Linked DNA regions of Homo sapiens: region 1 is linked to region 2. The links are contacts of gene promoters, found by promoter capture Hi-C in blood cells and fetal thymus (Javierre and others, 2016). All regions are on one chromosome and are shown on one strand. Each heading gives the region's core, a stretch centred on a gene start or on the middle of the fragment in contact. The rest is flanking DNA. Distances are from core to core; before and after follow the strand shown. Region 1 overlaps ABHD6 (abhydrolase domain containing 6, acylglycerol lipase). Region 2 holds the start of FLNB (filamin B).

The links. The method cuts DNA at HindIII sites, captures the fragments that hold promoters and counts their contacts. A CHiCAGO score of 5 or more calls a contact.
Region 1: a fragment that was not itself captured here is called in contact with the fragment with the promoter of FLNB in region 2 in 2 of 17 cell types (M1 macrophages and naive B cells); the score reaches 6.4 in M1 macrophages.

The regions. Positions count from the first base shown.
Region 1 is chr3:58,283,823-58,287,917 of GRCh38, forward strand. It overlaps ABHD6 (abhydrolase domain containing 6, acylglycerol lipase), which reads left to right. Exons shown (of 10, transcript NM_001320126.2): 8 at 1,263-1,317; 9 at 1,531-1,631. Among named protein-coding and RNA genes, the nearest start is that of RPP14, 20 kb to the right of the region's middle. The HindIII fragment of the contact is 1,880 bases long and covers 1,074-2,953 here.
Region 2 is chr3:58,006,933-58,010,680 of GRCh38, forward strand. FLNB (filamin B) reads left to right here and starts at 1,490. Exons shown (of 46, transcript NM_001457.4): 1 at 1,490-1,924. The coding sequence starts at 1,633. The HindIII fragment of the contact is 11,042 bases long and covers 1-3,748 here.

The DNA of each region.
Region 1 (4,095 bases), core at 764-3,263, 280 kb after region 2:
TAGATATGTGGGTACAGGTGGATAGCTGAACAAAGAAAATCTCTGATGCTGAGCACAATGTTGTTATTCAACAAATTGTCATTGTCCTCATGTCCAGGCTGAATGAGTTAGAGTCTAGTGATGCTCCAGAGGGTTGGTTTAGTCCATAGCAGCCATGGCTGGTTCTTCCCCACTTTCAGTCAGTGCACAGGACTCCTGAGAGAGTGTAATTAAAGGGTTCAGACCTGTTTGCAGGTAGAGGAGAGGAGTAGAGGAGTACAGCCACTAATGTGAACCCTGTACTCTACCTCAGGAGTCCTGAGGCAGGAGGAAGAGAAGAACTGTGTTCCTTCCAGCCACCACTACCTCTTTGGGTCAGTAGCCCAGGTCCAGAAGATGTGGCCTGTCCACATTGGCTGCAGCCCTCACCAGCCCTCAGCAGGGAAGGCAAAGACAGTGTCAAATGATAAACAAAGGGCTGTTGAACCCTCCCAGTGGGACTGTGGAACCCTCCCCAGAATCTTTTCAATAGTTTATTTCTTTGTTGTTTAATAGACCTATCATCCCCCAGTGGCTTAATTTTTTTAATGGAACTTGTTCTGCGTTTGGATATTACTGGCGAATTACTTGATATTATGGTCATCCTCATTATGTCTTTTTTTTTTTTTTGAGATAGAGTCTCACTGTCGCCCAGGTTGGAGTGCAGTGGCGCAATCTCAGCTCACTGCAACCTCCGCCTCCTGGGTTCAAGTGATTCTCCTGCCTCAGCCTCCCGAGTAGATGGGATTACAGGCCTGCACCATCACATCCTGCTAGTTTTTGTCTTTTTAGTAGAGATGGGGGTTTCACCATTTGGCCAGGCTGGTCTTGAACTCCTGGCCTCAAGTGATCTGCCCGCCTTGGCCTCCTGAAGTGCTGGGATTACAGGCATGAGCCACCATGCCCGGCCCATCCTGATTATGTCTTAAGTGAAGCAGAGAATCTCTCAAGCTAAAGTTGCTGTCAGGCCATCTCAGGTGTATTTAACATGCTGTAGGGCACCTCCAGTTTCACGATATTACCCAAGTTCCTTTATAATAATAATAATAATAAAAAGCTTCTTAGAAGCCTAACTCCCCATTAGACTGTGTGCTGCATCATGGGAATTCAGAGGACCAGGCTCTAAAGACCTTGACAGTGCAATAAATTGCTGGACCTCATTCCCATTCATTGTCCCAGAGCTGTGAGAGGCCTGAGGAAATGAATCTTCTCTTGCTCTCTAACTTTGGGTTATTTATCCTTAGATCCTGCAAGGCCTTGTCGATGTCCGCATCCCTCATAACAACTTCTACCGAAAGTGTAAGTAGCCCTACTTTCAGCTTGGAGCTTGTTACAAGTGAAGCTCTGTGGATGGATGGCTTTTATTTCTTAAATCTCTGACACTTTGAATGTCTCTTTGGGCCCCTGAAGAGAGGAAGTGGTGGCCTGGATCTGGTGACTATCCCTTGATTCTGCGGTGGTGCCACAGGCACAGTCCAGCACATACTCACTTTGTTTTCCTTTTCTGACAAGTGTTTTTGGAAATCGTCAGTGAGAAGTCCAGATACTCTCTCCATCAGAACATGGACAAGATCAAGGTTCCGACGCAGATCATCTGGGGGAAACAAGACCAGGTATGTAACACATCCCCGCGGCAGTCTGTGCTGGTCACCAGGGCCTCTGAGGAAAAACGTCCTTGAGGAAGAACAAGTGGTTATTTATGGAGTGAGCTGATCGCTGCTGTCAGGAAGAGGGGGAAGGCACCTGTGTTGGGTGCCAGTGTTGACAGTGGGCAGAGTTCTGGGAGTGGAGAGAAACAACATTTGGTCTGGTAAAAGGAAAGACAATTTTAAATCATTTTCAAAAATTGTTTTTATCAAAGCCATGTAGTCACATGGTATAAAAAGATCTTCAAAGAACACCAAAAGGTTTATAATGAAAACTTTTCTTTTTCGCATCCCAAATTCCATTCTCCATTACCATGAGGCAACTCTTATCTTACTATCTTGAATATATTTCTTTTCTTTTTTTCGTTTGAGACGGAGTCTTGCTCTGTCACCCAGGCTGGAGTGCAGTGGCCCAATCTTGGCTCACTGCAACTTCTGCCTCCCAGGTTCAAGCGATTCTCCTGCCTCAGCCTCCCAAGTAGCTGGGATTACAGGTGCCCTCCACCATGCTCACCTAATTTTTGTTTTTTGTTCTTTTGTTTTTTTTTTTTTAGACGAAGTCTTGCTCTGTTACCCAGGCTGGAGTGCAGTGGCACAATCTCGGCTCACTGCAAGCTCTGCCTCCTGGGTTCACGCCATTCTCCTGCCTCAGCCTCTCAAGTAGCTGGGACTACAGGCACCCGCCACCATGCCCAGCTAATTTTTTGTATTTTTAGTAGAGACGGGGTTTCACCATGTTAGCCAGGATGGTCTCGATCTCCTGACGTCATGATCTGCCGGCCTCAGCCTCCCAAAGTGTTGGGATTACAGGCGTGAGCCACCACACCTGGCAATTTTTGTATTTTTTTTAGTAGAGACGGGGTTTCACCATTTTGGCCAGGCTGGTCTTGAGCTCCTGACTTCAAGCAGTCCACCTTCCTTAGCCTCCCAAAGTGCTGGGATTACAAGCATGAGCCAACATGCTTGGCCTAAATTTTTTAAGCCAGAAGTTAGCAAATGTTTTCTGTAAAGGGCCAGATGGTAAACATTTTCAGCCTTGTGGTCCAGTCTCTGTCACACCTGGACACAGTTGAGTAACTGTGACCTTATAGTATAAAAGCAGCCATAGGCAATATGTAAACAAATGGCATGGCTTTTTCCAGTGAACCTTTATTTATAAAAACGGGCAGTGAGCCATTGTTTGCCTACTCCTATTCTAAGCACACGTATAGTGTATATATATGCATACCTATACATATCTGAGCTTTCAAACATGCTAGATACACTGGCATCTAAGATGCATGTTTGAAAGCTTAGATATATATAGGTGTGCATATAAGATATATAAGATCATATATGTGTGTGTGTGTGTGTGTGTGTGTGTGTGTATATATATATATATATGTATATGTATATATAAGTAGGTATCTTGGAAATCATTTTATATCAGCCCAAACAAATCTATTCCTTCTATTCTTAAAAAAATTTTATCTTGAAATAATTTCAAACTTACAGAAAATTTGAAAGAAGGCCAGGCATGGTGGCTTACGCCTATAATGCCAGCACTTTGGGAGGCTAAGGCAGGAGGATTGCTTGAGCCCAGGAGTTTGAGACCAACCTGGGCAGCATAGTGAGATCCCATCTCTATAAAAAATAAATTTTTAAAAAAGTAGCCAAGCATGGTGGTATGCATCTGTAGTCCCAGCTACTCTGGAGGGTGAGGCAGGAGGATCACTTGAGTCCAGGACATGGAGGTGGCAGTGAGCCGTGATTGCTTCACTGCACACCAGCCTGGGCCACAGGGCGGGATCCTATCTCAAAAAAATAAAAATAAAAAAGAATACAGAGTATACCTGCATACCCTTTACCTAAATGCATCAATTTTTAACTGGCAGGAGGTCACACTGTGGCCACAAAGACCCACAAGTGCATGAATGACCCAGGCAGGAGAGAGTGGGGAGGAGCAGCCAGGCTGTGCCCATGGCGTGTACGCAGAATAAGAGGCAATGGTGTCTTAGATGAGCCAGGCATGGTGAGGATTCACAGCATGGTTTTGTGGACGTGGAGAGAAGGGGATCTCATGTGCTCTCTTCTGCAGCGCCAAGGGACTGAAAGAAGCTTTGTTTGTGCCCTGGGCTATGCCAGCAGAGAGTCATTTGATCAGGAATCAGAGCCTGAGCAGCGAAGGCCTTCTGTTGTTCTAAAAACCCCAAAGGTGATTTGGGGCTCTCAGGAGCCAACAGGGAGAGGCTGTAACCCATCTTCCTGTGGAGACAGCGCAGAAGCAAGGGCACTGGCCTTGGATTCTGAAAGTCTATGTTCCAGCCCTACTTTTGTCCTTGGTCAGCCCATGCATGACCTTGAGCAAGTAACTCAGCCCCTCTAAATTAAGGGTTTCTGAAACTTCTAGTACCAGGGTTATTTTGAGGCTCAAATGAAATAATATGTATGA
Region 2 (3,748 bases), core at 240-2,739:
GACAAAAAAAAGGCTGGGCAAGGTGGCTCATGCCTGTAATCCCATCACTTTGGGAGGCAGAGGCTGGTGGATCGCTTGAGGTCAGGAGTTCAAGACCAGCCTGGCCAACATGGTGAAAGCCCGTCTCTATTAAAAATACAAAAATTAGCGGAGCGTGGTGGCGGGTGCCTGTAATCCCAGCCACTCAGGAGGTTGAGGCAAGAGAATTGCTTGAACCCAGGAGGAGGAGGTTGCAGTGAGCCGAGATTGCACCACTGGACTCTAGCCTGGGCAACGGAGTAAGACTCCATCGCAGGAAAAAAAAAAAAAAGGAAGATGTGCCTATGGAGAGAGGACTGTCTGAGGTCTGAGAGACTCCACCTGACATTGCAGGCTTGCTTTTCTGTTTTTTTTTTTTTTTTTTTTTTTTTTGAGACGGAGTTTTGCTCTGTCGCCCAGGCTGGAGTGCAATGGCACCATCTCAGCTCACTGTAACCTCTGCCTCCCAGGTTCAAGCGATTCTCCTATCTCAGCCTTCCCAGTAGCTGGGATTACAGGTACGCGCCACCACACCTGGCTAATTTTTGTATTTTAAGTAGAGATGGGGTTTTACCATGTTGGCCAGGCTGGTCTCGAACTCCTGACCTCAGGTGATCCACCCACCTTGGCCTCCCAAAGTGCTGGGATTACAGGTGTGAGCCATTGTGCCCAGCCCATTGCAGGCTTTCACAGAGAAAAGGGGCAGGAGTCAGGCGCGCAGGCAGCTTCTGGAAGTTAGAAAACACAAGGAAACAGATTCTTCCCTACAGCCTCCAGAAGGGAATGCATCCTGCCAACACTTTGTTTTTAGCTCAGCAAGACCTGTGTGGGCCATCGAACCTACAGAACTGAAGGATAATACATTTGTGGGTGTGTGTTTTCAAAGACACTAAGTTTTGGTAACTTGTTACAGCAGTAACTGGAAACTAAGACATGCAACAAGCCTTATTGTTCATTTTTACCACCACTACTGGGCTGTTGGTTATGGTGGAATTACACTTTTCTCTTCCATTAGGCTGTGTGAACTCCTTGAGGTTGTGCAATACGTTTGTCTGATTTACTACTGGTTAGCAGGCTCTGAGAAGAATGGCTGGTACACAGGCGGAGCTCAATAAAAGCCCTTACTGAATTTTATTCAATCTATATGTGGATGAAGACCTCCGCCCCGCGCGCCCCTCCCGCAAGTCCCACTGAGGCCCGACCCATTCTGTCCGGCTCCCAGCCCCCGCGGGTCCCCCCACCCCGGGGCTGACCGGGTGATTCAGGCAGCCCTACATCCTGCTGGGGTGGTGGGCTTCGAGCGCGGGTCCCAGGACGCAGTGGGGCGCAGTGCCTGCGGCAGGCGGCAGGAGGCGAGCGTGGCCCAGGAACTCCCGCGGGAGGGTCGGGACGGGGCGGGGCTTGGGGGCGGGGCGGCTCAGCGCGCAGGCGCGGGGCCAGGCGCCTCGCGCGGCCAGGGGCGGGCGGCCGCAGAGCAGCACCGGCCGTGGCTCCGGTAGCAGCAAGTTCGAACCCCGCTCCCGCTCCGCTTCGGTTCTCGCTCCTTCGGCCCTTGGGCCTCCAAACACCAGTCCCCGGCAGCTCGTTGCGCATTGCGCTCTCCCCGCCACCAGGATGCCGGTAACCGAGAAGGATCTAGCTGAGGACGCGCCTTGGAAGAAGATCCAGCAGAACACGTTCACACGCTGGTGCAACGAGCACCTCAAGTGCGTGAACAAACGCATCGGCAACCTGCAGACCGACCTGAGCGACGGGCTGCGGCTCATCGCGCTGCTCGAGGTGCTCAGCCAGAAGCGCATGTACCGCAAGTACCATCAGCGGCCCACCTTTCGCCAGATGCAGCTCGAGAATGTGTCCGTGGCGCTCGAGTTCCTGGACCGTGAGAGCATCAAGCTCGTGTCCATCGGTGAGTTCTCTGGCCGGGCCCAGGCGCCCACTGTGGTGCCGACCCGCCCCCGCGCGTGCACCCCTGCGGAGGGCGAGGATTTCCCGCAGCGCGCCCCCACCTCGGAGATAAGGGGGAGTCGTCCCCAGGGGTGGGTTATAGGGGGCCTAGACCCCCTCCCCGGTGTCTTCCCCTGGGATGGGACCTGTTGTGATCGCTCCCCGCCATCCGCCCCAGCAGTGCACCTTTGGCTGGCTAAGGGTTGAGGGTTTGGGCTGGGGTCACAGGAGGAGAGGTGGAGTTGTTGCATTTCTCTACACCTGGGGCGCCCCTATGGGAGCTAGGGGACTAGAAACCCTCGTTCGCTGTCCCCGGGGGCGGGCCCTAGGGTCAGATGCTCCGCGGAGTGCTCTCCCTGCTGCGCCCAGGTTGGTGCTCTCAGAGGCAGCTGAATGGGCGTTGGCTCGGAGGCCGGGCCGTGAGACCTGAGGAGGAACCGTTCTCTGCGCCTGGGGCCTCCCTGCCCAGGTGGAGACAGAGACCTGGTACCTTCCCCTGCCGTCGCTGGAATGGGTGTGGGCCCCGAGGTTGCAAGGGTAGGCGCGGGTGTGTGTCCTCGCTCTCTCTGCTCCCAGCTCAGCTCTGGCCGCGCGCCGCAGGTTGAACCCACTCCTTGCTGCCGAAGTTATAATTTAGAGATGGTGGTGGTAACAGTAATTGCTGTCTTGTAGGGAGCCCAACTAGCGTCCACTGTGTACCGTCAGCCTTCTAAGTTATCTCCGTCCCTACGCATCCTGCCATCTGGGGTGAGGCTAGACCCATTTTACAGATAAGGGGGTCCGGAGGGTTAATTGACCTGTCCAAGGTCAGCAAGTAGGGCCCAGCTGAGAACTGAAGGAAGTGGGCAACAGTTAGAAGGAGGCTTTGTTTTCCTCTCCTCTCCCAAACCTACACCAGGGTCTTCCTGAAAGGAGGGAGGGAATTGGTGTCTCTTGCTGGACTGGGCCTTCTGGTCTGGGGAGGAAGAATAAGGATGAAGTCTCCCTTGTGGTCTGAGATAGTTGGAGGCTTCCCAGAGGGCCACAAGGCTACTGATAGTGTGGGCTGTGATGGTAGGGGCTGTGATGTGTGTGTGCATGTGGGCGTTTGTGCAGAGAACGTGTGTACACACATAGCATGTGTGTATAGCATGTGCATATGCAAAGAGTTTGCATGTACACGGAATGTATGCAGAGAATGTGTATCCACCTACACGTGTGTATGGGTGTGTGTATGTGTGTGTGTGTATGTGGGTGGGTGGGTGTGGGTTGGGGCAGAGGAGGGTTCTGGGTCTGGATCTCTTCCTAAGGAGAACCAGGGACTGGCCCTGGCCTGTGATTTGGGTCTCTTCCTGAGGAAACCAGGTCACTATAGTGACCCTAGTGACAGGAAGAAAGGGAGATGGGTGTGGCTGCCAGGACTTTCTCCAGTGGAAAAGGGATTCCCTCTAGGCTGAGCCTCCCCTGGGCCTTAGGGCCTCACCCTTCCCTTCCCCCACACCTGTCCTGGCAGGTAAGGCTGCTTCCTGCTTCCTGGGCCCAGATGGCAGCCGCACCACCCAGCTGATCTCCAGCAGCCCTCCCCCTCCCCAAGGGTGGCTTCCCTGCAGAAGAATCTGCATGGCACGCTGTTGTCTTCTTTCTGGGGTCCATCTCCTGTACTGGGGAGGGAGAACCTCAGAATCTCCTGGAATTCTTTACCATTCAGAAACCAGCCTCCCCTCTGAAGAATCCCAAGGCCCAGCTGGGCTCAATTTGGATCTGTTCTTTGTTTTAAAAATGTGTATTTATTTAATTAACTGAATAA